Linked DNA regions of Homo sapiens: regions 1, 2 and 3 are each linked to region 4. The links are contacts of gene promoters, found by promoter capture Hi-C in blood cells and fetal thymus (Javierre and others, 2016). All regions are on one chromosome and are shown on one strand. Each heading gives the region's core, a stretch centred on a gene start or on the middle of the fragment in contact. The rest is flanking DNA. Distances are from core to core; before and after follow the strand shown.

Region 1 (2,700 bases), core at 46-2,545, 2.3 Mb before region 4:
ATCTATTAAAATTAAAATTAAGTATTTTTTTCTAGAGTTCTTTTTTAATAATAGAGTCATTACAAAATAGTACAATGCCGAATTGCTAAATTTTTTCATTTTGGGTTATTTCTCAGGTAAAAATAAGTGCATATAGATTTTATTTAGAGGTAGCAACAAAGAGGATAAAAATAAGCATTTGAGTGCATTCCATTCTCTGCAAGCTTTGAAATAAAGGACTATCTAATTCTTCATGAGTTATCGGGAAAAAGTCACCAATTCTTCGATTCTTACAAAATCATCTTAATACTATGGACAAATTCAAGGTTCGTAGTAAAAATTGCTTTTTTTAAAGTCTTCCCTTTCCACTCCAGGCCCTGAGACTGGGTTAACGGGCAAAGGGAGAAAAAATTGGGAAAAAGTAACGTTTTTGTTTGGATGTCCCAGTTGAGTTTGGTCCAATGAGTTGGGGGGGTGTCTCTCCATTTGGCGGGAGTGGGGAGGGAGACCCTGGAACTCCTGAGGGATCGGTGGGGCTGCCCCTCAGGGCGCGGGACACGCGGAGGAGGCGGGAGATAACCGCGAGCGCGATCTCCCGCGCCCGCCAGCAAGGCTGGGACCGCGAAAAATCGGGGAAACTGCCTTTGGCTGTGAGGGTGCGGGGCAGATGTAGAAAAGGGGCGCAGGGGGAGAAGGTGAGGCACCTGGCCAGGCCCTGGGGGCTTCTCGCTCGCAGCCCTGTCACCGCCGGGGGCCCCGGGGTGGGGGAGGGGAGGGGCATTTGGCGCCTATTCAAGCAGGGTGGGGTAGGTGGGTCTTCCGAGGAGGAAAAAGGGCGCCCTGGGATGCCACGACCCGCACCTCCCGGGGCTGGAGTCCACGGTCGGCGTGGGTGGCGGGACCCCGCGGCCCGCCATCCCGCCCCTGCACATCTGGCTCTTCTGGCTTCCCCCCGACACCCAGCCGCCCTCCTCCCGGACCCAGGAACCGCTGCCGCCGCCCGAGGCCGGGCGTGTGGCATGGCCGCGCGTCCAGGCTCCGAGGGACGTCGGGTCAGGGTCTCAGGCTGCGACCCTCCCCGTGCACCCCTCCTGGCGTGCGCGCCCCCCTCGCGACCGCTCCCCTCACTCACTATCCGAGGGTCGAGGGCGCCCGGCGGCTGTCACTGCGCTGGGGCTGGCGCTGCAGGAGCAGCGGGGTGGCCGTAGGGCGCAGCTGCAGGGGCGCCGGCTCATGCCAGCCGACGTGGAGTCTGCCTCAGGTGGAGGAACCGCTCCGGGGGCAGCTGAGCAACCTGCCTGCTTCACAGACCTGTATCTCTTAAAAGGCGCCAGCTGGTACTTTTAAAATCTTTGAATTTGGTGCCTAAATCCGCGCGGTCCAATGAGACGCGTCGCTTGCATGCGCGCACCAATAGGAGGGCAGTGGGTGGGGGCGCCCTCGTCCGCGCCCAATTGGAGGCTGCCGAGGCGGGGCCGAGCCGCGAAGCCCAGCCCCCTTCCAGCTTACCGGCTCCCCACGTCCGGAAAGATGCTACGGCCGGGGGCGGGACCTCCGAGCACGGGGAGGCCGCGGCCCGGCCACACGTGTGGAGGGTCTATCACGCATGCGTGCGCCCGCCAAGATTCCTTCCGCCGTCTTCTGGACCGGCCTCCTGCAAGTCCTAATCTCAGCCCAAATTCAGCGCTGGCTTCCATCTGGAGATCTTTGATGGGTACAAATGGTAGCCGACTTTCTTCGATCATCTCTCGAACGGGAGTTCGGTGAGCAGCAACTCGGCTCGTCCGGGAATCCAGACTTTCCGGAAGACGGACCCTCCCCCCAGTCCAGCTTAGCCCGCCTCTCTAGGATTTACGCGCGCGCTCTGCTCTCCCTCCTAACTCGACCCTCCCCTTGACCCACGCCTCTGCGCAGGCGCCTTGGCGGGCTGTGGCTGCGGAGTTGGCGGGTCGGCGCCTGCGCACTGGAGTCCCCCGCGATTTTTTCCTCCGGGGTGGGCGAGGAGGCTGTGCGGCCTTCCCCAGCGGCTGTAGCAGGAGACCTGCGGCTGCATCTCCCAGGGCCTTCCGGCGGGGCCGAGGGTAGGACCGAGGCACTTCTTCCTTGCAAGCGCGTTTATTTGTATTTTCAACCACACTTCAGACGCTACTGGTTTATAGGAACGTTAAGTTTACTGAGTGTGCAGCTACGCTCCCCTGGGTTTTTGTTCCTTTCCTTAAAGGGCCAGGTGTAGGAGACAGTAGTCCTGCTCCCAAAAAAAGAATAAATAGAAGTGCCCGCCCTCTTGGGCTGGACCCCCGTGGCCAAGGGAGTTTTTAGTGATGGCTGGCATGGACGTCAGTATGAAAGTGTACCGGAGTATTAGTGATGCTTAACTTTTCACAATTTGAATATGCACTTAAGTAGGGCAGTGCATTCCCTGAACTCAGCTTTATGGCTACAGCCCAGTGAAGCAACGGGATGTGAACTCCAAAACGGCGAATCCTCCTTTGCTGTTTCCCTCTGGTGCCTTTCTGCAGCCTCGGAGTGAGTTCTTGGCTGTAGTCAGTTTTCAGTACCGTTAGTGACGAGTCCGGTGGGGCGCGGCCAGGATTAGGATGAATCATACAAGTGCTGGGTGGATCCTGTCTTTACCTAAAATTTTGATAATTAGTTGTGGGGCGCGGCCAGGATTAGGATGAATCATACAAGTGCTGGGTGGATCCTGTCTTTACCTAAAAT
Region 2 (2,700 bases), core at 64-2,563, 2.0 Mb after region 4:
TGACAGGCTTTCTCCCTGGAGGAGAGCCAGCCACCCGGTTCTGCGGTGACGGGTACCTCCGCCGCGGTGTGAGTGCTCGGCCTCCGTCGGGAAGTGGAACACTCACAGGATGACCGAATGAAAGTACCACCCCCGAAAGGAGAGCGACGCCCGCTGGAAGCGCTTGCAGAGCTGCCGGCAACGTTGACCGCTAGCAAGCTTGGTCTTCCGCTGGGAGGCTGGTTTGCCCATTCTGTAAATGGCCGTGGAGAGGAGGAGGCTAGTGGTGATAGAAAATCTTTTCAGCCTCTCAGAGAACAATGACATCTTGTAAAATAAGGCGGTCTCTCTGCTATTTGTCCTGCCCCCCATCACCGGAGGGCATGAGTTTCCTGAGGATGGAGATGGGACTCTATGTTCAGTTTATATCCCCCAGCTTTCAGATATTAACTGGTTACCAACATCAAATGCATGTTGGATGAATGAGTAAATGAATGCATCCATTTTTGCGTCAGTGAAGTGCAGTTAATAGCTCAAACCTGGGCTCGGGTCCTAAACCGCTTCTCAGGTGTGTGAACTTGGGGTAACTTAGCCCCTCTATAGCTCAGTTTCCTCACCTGTAAAATTTAAAAACTGGTAGTAGGCCAGGCGCGGTGGTTCACGCCTGTAATCCCAGCACTTTGGGAGGCTGAGGCAGGTGGAGATCAGAAGTTCGAGATCAGCCTGGCCAACATGGTGAAACCCCGTTTCTACTAAAAATACAAAAATTAGCGGAGTCTAATGATGCGGGACTGTAATCCCAGCTACTCGGGAGGCTGAGGCAGGAGAATGGCTTGAACCTGGGAGGGAGAGGTTGCAGTGAGCCGAGATCGAGCCGTTGCACTCCAGCCTGGATGACAAGAGTGAAACTCTGCCATCCACCCCATCCCGCCCCCCCCACACACAAAAACTGATAGTACCTAACTCATAGGATTACTGTGAGAATTAAATGAAGCAACATCTATAAAGAAGTTAGCACAGTGCCTGGCACATATAAATATTCAATACATGTTAGCTCTAACTATTACCACCTTTGATTCCAGTAGCTATTTTGCAGCATTGCCTATGGGGATTTTTAAAAATGATGGATTATCAAGGTCTATCTACCACGGGAGATTAGAGCTCTGAAGGCCCGCGGGTGGCAGGGCAGAATGTAAAAGCTCCGTGGGGTTTCTGATGATAAAAAACTACTGCTCTGTTCAAATTTTTGTGTGGATGAGATCACACAGAATGTATGTGACCTTTGGATTTCCTGGAAACACGTCAGTATCTGAAAGGGCTTTTAAGCTGGTAAATGCTGTGCTAATTTGTTGAAGGACCTATCCTTTTTCCTTCCCCTCATACATAACAGTAACCATAGCTGCTAACATGTATTGAGTGCTTTCTATATATCTGACATTGCACTAAGTGCTTCAAGTACATTATCTCATTTATTCCTCTCCATAAACTCAGAAAGACTAACTTGCTCAAGCTCACACAGCTGTTAAGTGGCAGAGACAGGGCTTAAAAGCAGGTCCTTCCTTATCCACTGTGCCAGTCGTCCTCAAGTGTGAACTTGAATATTGGAATCACCTGGAAGGCTTATTGCACTCAGCTTGCTGGGCCCCATTCCCAGAGTCTGTGACTCAGTGGGGGCTGAGAACGTGTATGTCTAAGTTCCCAGGTGATGCTGTTGCCACGGATTCCACTTCGAGAACATCTTCTGTGTGCCTTCCTCTTATGGATTACACCTCTTAAAATCCACACCATACACTTTAGCACTTGGAAATCTGTTTTCCCAAGACTGCTTAGGGAGAAAAAGTGCAGATTCCTCCACTCTCTTCTTTGCTGTCCCCTTAGAAAACGACAGAAACATTTTAAGGATTAAGCTGGGCACAGTGGCTCAAACCTGTAATCCTAGTGCTTTGGGAGGTCGAGGCAGGCAGATCACTTGAGGTCAGGAGTTTGAGACCAGCCTGGCTAACATGGCGAAACCCCATCTCTACTAAAAATATAAAAATTAGCTGGGTGTGGTGGCGGCGCCTGTAATTTCAGCTACTTGGGAGGCTGAGGCAGGAGAATCGCTTCAACCCAGGAGGCAGAGGTTGCAGTGAGCCAAGATCATGCCACTGCACTCCAGCCTGGGTGACAGAGCAAGACTCCGTCTCAAGATGATGATGATGATGATGATAATAATAATAATAATAATTTAAGGTTTATATCACTGCTTACTATAAGGAACAGAAGGGAGATAATAGATCTTGTAATCTAGGGAAATTACAGAGTCCTGCATTCCAGAGCTGGTCTCCATTGAAAGTAACTGCACATCCTAGGAAACTGGTGTCTGCTTTGTTTTGGATGTTGCAGCTCACAAACCTCTATCTTCTTTCTAAATCCCCAAAGTAAAAGGCAATCTTCCTTTTTTCTACTTGAAAGCTTGTTTTCCCAATATACACAGGACTGAAAAGGCAATTGACACAAACCAATGGTTTACACTTCAGCCTCAAAATTTGCATTTTGAGGATCTTTGTGGGATACATACCAAGGAGAGGAGGAGGTGCGAGCTCCTTGGTCAAGGCCTGTTTGTGGAGACTACTACAGCCCCATTTCTCACTAGCCCCCAGCACCTGCCCTGTGACTTGCTTGGTGCCAGATCCTGGGAGATGGTGTTTCCAGAGCCTCAGAAGCCTGCCACACACTGGG
Region 3 (2,700 bases), core at 62-2,561, 2.1 Mb after region 4:
CTGTAATTGCTGATGGCAGTGACAACTGAGGAGAGTGATGAAAACGTAAAGAAGGTAGAGTAATGCTCCCAGAAGGAGGTCTCGACTAATAACAGATGGGGAATTGGTGAATAAACTTCAGCTTTCTTGCCCCTCAGTTGGGATAACTCTGGCAGGTTGCACACCTCGGGCCTCCCAGAGTCCCCTAGAGCAGGGATCCCCAAACCCCAGAGACACGGACCAGTACTGGTCCACGGCCTGTTAGGAACCGGGCTGCGCAGCAGGAGGTGAGCAGTGGACAAGTGAGCGAAGCTTCATCTGTATTTACAGCCCTCCCCGTCGCTCGCATTACTGCCTGAGCTCCATCTCCTGTCAGATTAGCATTAGATTCTCATAGGAGTGTGAACCCTGTTGTGAACTGAGCATGTGAGGGACCTAGGTTGCATGCTCATTATGAGACTCTAATGCTTGATGATCTGTCACTACCTCCCATCACCCCCACTGGGGCCGTCTAATTGCAGGAAAACAGCTCAGACTCCCACTGATTCTACCTTATGGTGAGTTGTATAATTACTTCTTTATATATTATAATGTAATACTAATAATAGAAATAAAGTACACAATCAATGTAATGCACTTGACTCATCCCAAAACCATGCCCCCATCCCCTCACCCTCCAGTTCGTGGAAAAATTGTTTTCCACAAAACTGGTCCTTGGTGCCAAAAAAGTTGGGGACCACTGCCCTAGAGGGTCCGATTTCGGTGGCCCACCATGGTAGCTTGCTCGATAGCGCATGCTTTATTGGTTTCTTTTCCCTCCCTATCTCACTTCCTCACTCTTCTGCTGGTGTTTTCTGCAATCCCCTCCCAAATAAACTAATTGTGCTTGGATCCCTGTCAGTTCTACTCCAGCTAGAAACATCATGCACTTTCCCAATAATTTACTTTTCTGTACCCATCCCCATTTCCCTGAGAGACTAACCCTTTCATATTCTTCCTGTCCAAACTGTCAAGGTCAGAGGTGCACTTTGCTACAGGCTGGGCCTGAGATTTCTCTTCACTCTGAAATCAAGATGATTTCTCTATTCCACTCAGTTGTTGGTTCATCAGACCGCGTGCTCTTTCCATTGTGTGGGGGATATAGGAAAGCTTGAGTCAGACATTCATACCTGGCCTAGAATCTTGACTCTATTACTTACTTACTGCAAAACCCTGGGCAAATCACCTAACTTCTCTGATCTTCAGTTTCCTCCTCTGTGAAATAAAGATAATAATCCCTGCCTCATCAGGTTGTCCTCCGGATTTAATGATCTAAATGTATAAAGAACCAGGAGATTGACTAATACAAAAATACTCTGGAGAAAAGATCATTATTTTTATAATATCGTTCTCTTGTATTATTGAATTTCTCATGTGCCTCCATCTTGTTTCCCAACCTTAACTGTAGTTTCTCTGCCGCATTTACCTTCATCATACTGACCTGCACGTGACAAGCACTAAACATTATCAATTTTCTAAAGCTTTAAAGTGCTAAAAGAAAAACTTCAGCTGAATTCAATTTAAAATAGTTTAACTGAGCAAAGAATGATTCATGAATTGGGCAGCCTCCTGAGCCAGGGTAGCCTCAAAGACTGCAGTGCAGTCGCGTGGTGGAAGAGAATTTATGGACAGAAAAAAGAAAGTGACGTACAGAAAGCGGAAATGAGGTACGGAAACAGCCAGATGGTTACAGCTCAGCATTTGTCTTATTTGAACATGGTTTGAACAGCTGGCCACAATTGAGTGGCCAAAACTCAGTAATTGACACCCGAGTAGATCACACTCTGTTTACACTTCCATTTAGGCTACAGTTCAGTGTACAGAGAAACCTTTAGGCCAAACTTAAAATATGTAAAGAGGCAGTATTAGGCTAAACCCCATTTAGCAAAAGTAGATCATGCACTCTTTCAATTCAATTCAAGACTCATTTTTGGATTATTTGTTATTGGCGAGGCATTCTCAAGGAATTTTTAGCAGGTCTTTTGACTTTTCAGTGTCCTTGTTTGAGAAATACAAGTTTTGGTCTCTAATTCTAGATACGCTGACGTCCCTCTAGCATTAAAGTTTGGAATCTATACATTCCTGGAGGGCAAGGACGGTGATTTTTCTTTCAGACCCCTCAACACTTACACCGATGGTGGGTACAGAGTGTGGCATACAGAATTGATGCTGGTGCACACAGAATGAATTCCTGTTCCTTTTTCCCTCTCTCCCTGGCCCTCGCTCCACTCCAGCCAGACTGGTTTTTCTTTGTACCCCTAGAATTTTCCAGGTTGTTCTGCCTTGAGGACTTGGTACTTGCCCCTTCCCATCATTCGATTCTCTGCCCGACCCCAGTCTCTCCATCCCATAACCCTGCTTTGTTTTTTCGTTCTTGTAATTACTCTCTGAAATTGTCTTACTAGTCATTTATTTATTTGTTTATTCTCTCCACCTCTCCCCCAGTCCCCAAATATAAGCTTCTATCTTGGATCTTTTTGTATCACTGCTGCTAAAACAGTACTTAGCACAATCTAGGCCCTGAAATAGATAACTGTAAAATAAATGAATAAACTCTACCATCCCTTATACAGTAGGTTTTACAGTCATCCCTCAGTATCCTCAGGAGATTGGTTCCAGGATCACCTGCGTATACCTGAATCTGCACATATTCAGGTCCTTAAACAGGCTCCACAGAACCTG
Region 4 (2,700 bases), core at 42-2,541:
GCTGAGATCATGCCATTGCACTCCAGCTTGGGCAACAAGAGTGAAACTCCATCTTAAAAAAAGAAAAAAAAAAAAAAGAGAAAACTTGAGTTAAATTATTTTATCCAAAGTCATATTGGTACAGGCAGAATAAAGACTACATGTCCAAGAAATAAAACATTTTATGTTTTCTGGAGTGTGCTTCATTTAAGTGAAAATGAACTTTTTGGGTGTGATTTACTGCTCTTTTCAACTTCTGAAGTGGGACTAAATAGAATGAAATATGAAAATCTCAAAACCTAAGTACTCCAGCCGTGACTTAGTAGACGTATTTGTAATATATTTTTGCAACCTCATCTCATAGAACATCACTAAGCAATGGTGATGGTGGTTAAACCAATATATAAATACATTCGTCAAAACTCATCAAATTGAGCACTTCAAACTTATTAATTTTATTGCACATAAATTATATCTCATAAAAAGTAACTTTAAACAATTAGGTGTGGGAATGTAAACTTGCTAAAAGTAAGCTCCTCGAGGAAACACCGCCTTGTTCACGCCCATATCCTACCCCCGGCACTAGCACAATGTTGCTTGTGTAATATGTACTTATGAATGAATATTAGCGCCCCCGAGGCTTAGACTGAACAGGTAAACGTTTAAAAAACGAATCATACGAGGGATACTCTTTTCACCAAGTTATTGATAAAATCCTCGCATCAATTTAAATTCTGGTAACTTTAAACTGCATGTAAAGCAACTGCAGTCAGCATGTGCTGTACTATTTCAGAATGATTGATTTCACAGTGACCCAGATTCCAATATTCACTAGCGCCTTTCACGACCCATGAACCCTTCCTCCCCTAGGGAGCTTGGCATTTATGCAGCCTGCCGGCAGGCTACACCCCCCCGAACGCGGAGTTTTGTGAGCAATCAACGCACTTCACGTGTCTCCTGGGCGGTGGGACCGGAGTTCTGATACAAAGAGGTCGAAGGACCTGACCAAAAGCCCGTCGCACGCCAGTGCCTGGACACCCGCCCGCGGGGACGTGCAAGACCCCCCGGCCCACGCCCCCACGGACACTGGGGAGACATCCGGGGAGCACTGCTAAGCCATCCACCTGTCAGCCTCAAGTCCAGGAGGAAATTCTGTGATAGCTGCTTCGCTGCTTGCAGTCTTAACAACTTAATGATTTCTCGAATCGTGGGCAACGGAGGGAGACGGCAAGTGCTGAGTTTTCCGGAGGCAGCCATGATACGCGGCAAGCACCATCCAACCCTACCTCACCCAGGACCTTCACCGCCGCTCCGAAAGAAACGCGCAGGGGAGGAACCTGCGAGACCTAAGGCCCGCCTCGGAGTCAGCCCCATTGGTCAGACCTATCCCACCGGAAGCGATGACCGCGGACAGGAAATTCCCGGCGTGCTGAGAGCGCATGCGCTAAGTCCTGCCGCGAGAAGGGCAGGCTGGGTGGTCGGCGGCTTCCGCCTGTGAGAGCCGGGGGAGAGCCGGGTGGACTAGGCTTCTCCTGGGCGGGCTATGGGGAGAGCGCCCAGGAGGGCGGGACGAGGCGGGGCCTGGACAGGGTGGGGTTTTTCGGAGGAGTTGCTCTGAGAGGTGCAGCCGGTTTACTCCCGCCCTGAAGTTCCCAAGGGCTTCCGGCTCTTTAACGTTCTAAATACCTGTCTGTGAATATTAGAGGAAAAGCGGGTGCTTAGAGGCAAAGCTACTGTTTGTTAGCAATTCTTTCTTACTGTGAGGCGTTTTTAGAACCGCCGCTCTGCAGATGCTGCATGATGGGTTTTTAACTTCGTTCAGCCTCAGTTTTTTCATCAGTTAAATGGAGCTAATGTCTACCTCAAAATTGTGAGCACTAAATGAGAGAGATCGCCTGGTGTGCACGTTCAGAACATAGTGCACGCATGGCATTGGGTAAGCTCCCACGTGATCAGTGGTGGCTGTTATTATTTGGCAGATGAATAATTGGCCAGTGTAAAGAGGTCATTCGATTTGCTAGGATTACAGCTAAGAACAGAGAGAAGACTGAAATATGAGTTCTGTCTTTCCGTTATACGAGATAAAAACAACGAAGCAAAAAAAAAAAAAAATTAAAGTTTCTCTGATAGGTGGGAGAATTTTGCTGTTTTAACCCTGCTTATGTTTGGACATTGCTGCGTTGATCACAAATGAATTTTAAAGTTTCTGTTCCTCAATTAGTAAGTTTTTAAAAAAGCTAATGGAAAACGAAACAACTATGGGTATGGATATAAAAATGAGGAGTACTTTGAAATTCCAGTGGAAAACTCAACCACCTTCTATAAAAGCTGTTTTAAAAGGAACTGAGATAATCTCCTAGCTTTAAAAAATAGTGATGACTACCATAGAGGTAAGGAGATTTGCCCAACGTGGCATCAAAATGTAGACTGGAAGTACAAACTCTTGATTCAGATATCTTATCGTCCAAAACACAGTATACCTGACAAAGCATTATTTCACAGTTATATTCATTATTTCCCGTACTCCTCACAATGGTCCCATGTGAATGAGATTATTATTCTTAGTTTGCTGTGAAGAAATAGGGGAGGTGAGGTCATTTGACAATGCCCAGAGTCAGACAGCAAAGTACAGAGAGAAGACAACCTGAGTTGTGTTTTTTCTGAGTTCTGATCTCACTGGCCACACTCAAGTATCAGCTTATTATTTTTAAGTTAATATGT

The links. Contacts are between HindIII fragments. The CHiCAGO score rates a contact against its expected background, and 5 or more counts as called.
Region 1: a contact is called between the fragment with the promoter of FBXO5 here and the fragment with the promoter of TFB1M in region 4, in 3 of 17 cell types (total CD8 T cells, naive CD8 T cells and fetal thymus). The highest score is 8.4, in total CD8 T cells.
Region 2: a fragment that was not itself captured here is called in contact with the fragment with the promoter of TFB1M in region 4 in 2 of 17 cell types (fetal thymus and monocytes); the score reaches 7.3 in fetal thymus.
Region 3: a fragment that was not itself captured here is called in contact with the fragment with the promoter of TFB1M in region 4 in 1 of 17 cell types (fetal thymus); the score reaches 5.2 in fetal thymus.

Annotation. Positions count from the first base shown.
Region 1 is chr6:152,981,746-152,984,445 of GRCh38, forward strand. It overlaps FBXO5 (F-box protein 5), which reads right to left and starts at 1,296. Exons shown (of 5, transcript NM_012177.5): 1 at 1,112-1,296. The coding sequence starts at 1,214. RefSeq lists silencers at 730-799, 1,280-1,599 and enhancers at 1,630-1,849, 2,140-2,259. The HindIII fragment of the contact is 9,521 bases long and covers 202-2,700 here.
Region 2 is chr6:157,323,996-157,326,695 of GRCh38, forward strand. TMEM242-DT (TMEM242 divergent transcript) reads left to right here. Exons shown (of 1, transcript NR_187268.1): 1 at 1-482. LOC105378076 (a long non-coding RNA gene) reads left to right here and starts at 2,236. Exons shown (of 3, transcript XR_943165.2): 1 at 2,236-2,700. RefSeq lists an enhancer at 1-236. The HindIII fragment of the contact is 2,235 bases long and covers 197-2,431 here.
Region 3 is chr6:157,375,355-157,378,054 of GRCh38, forward strand. No RefSeq gene overlaps it. Among named protein-coding and RNA genes, the nearest start is that of ZDHHC14, 4.5 kb to the right of the region's middle. The HindIII fragment of the contact is 371 bases long and covers 1,127-1,497 here.
Region 4 is chr6:155,313,193-155,315,892 of GRCh38, forward strand. TFB1M (transcription factor B1, mitochondrial) reads right to left here and starts at 1,292. Exons shown (of 7, transcript NM_016020.4): 1 at 1,104-1,292. The coding sequence starts at 1,236. RefSeq lists enhancers at 1,067-1,386, 1,385-2,375, 1,457-1,506, 2,057-2,106 and a silencer at 1,557-1,636. The HindIII fragment of the contact is 4,007 bases long and covers 1-2,700 here.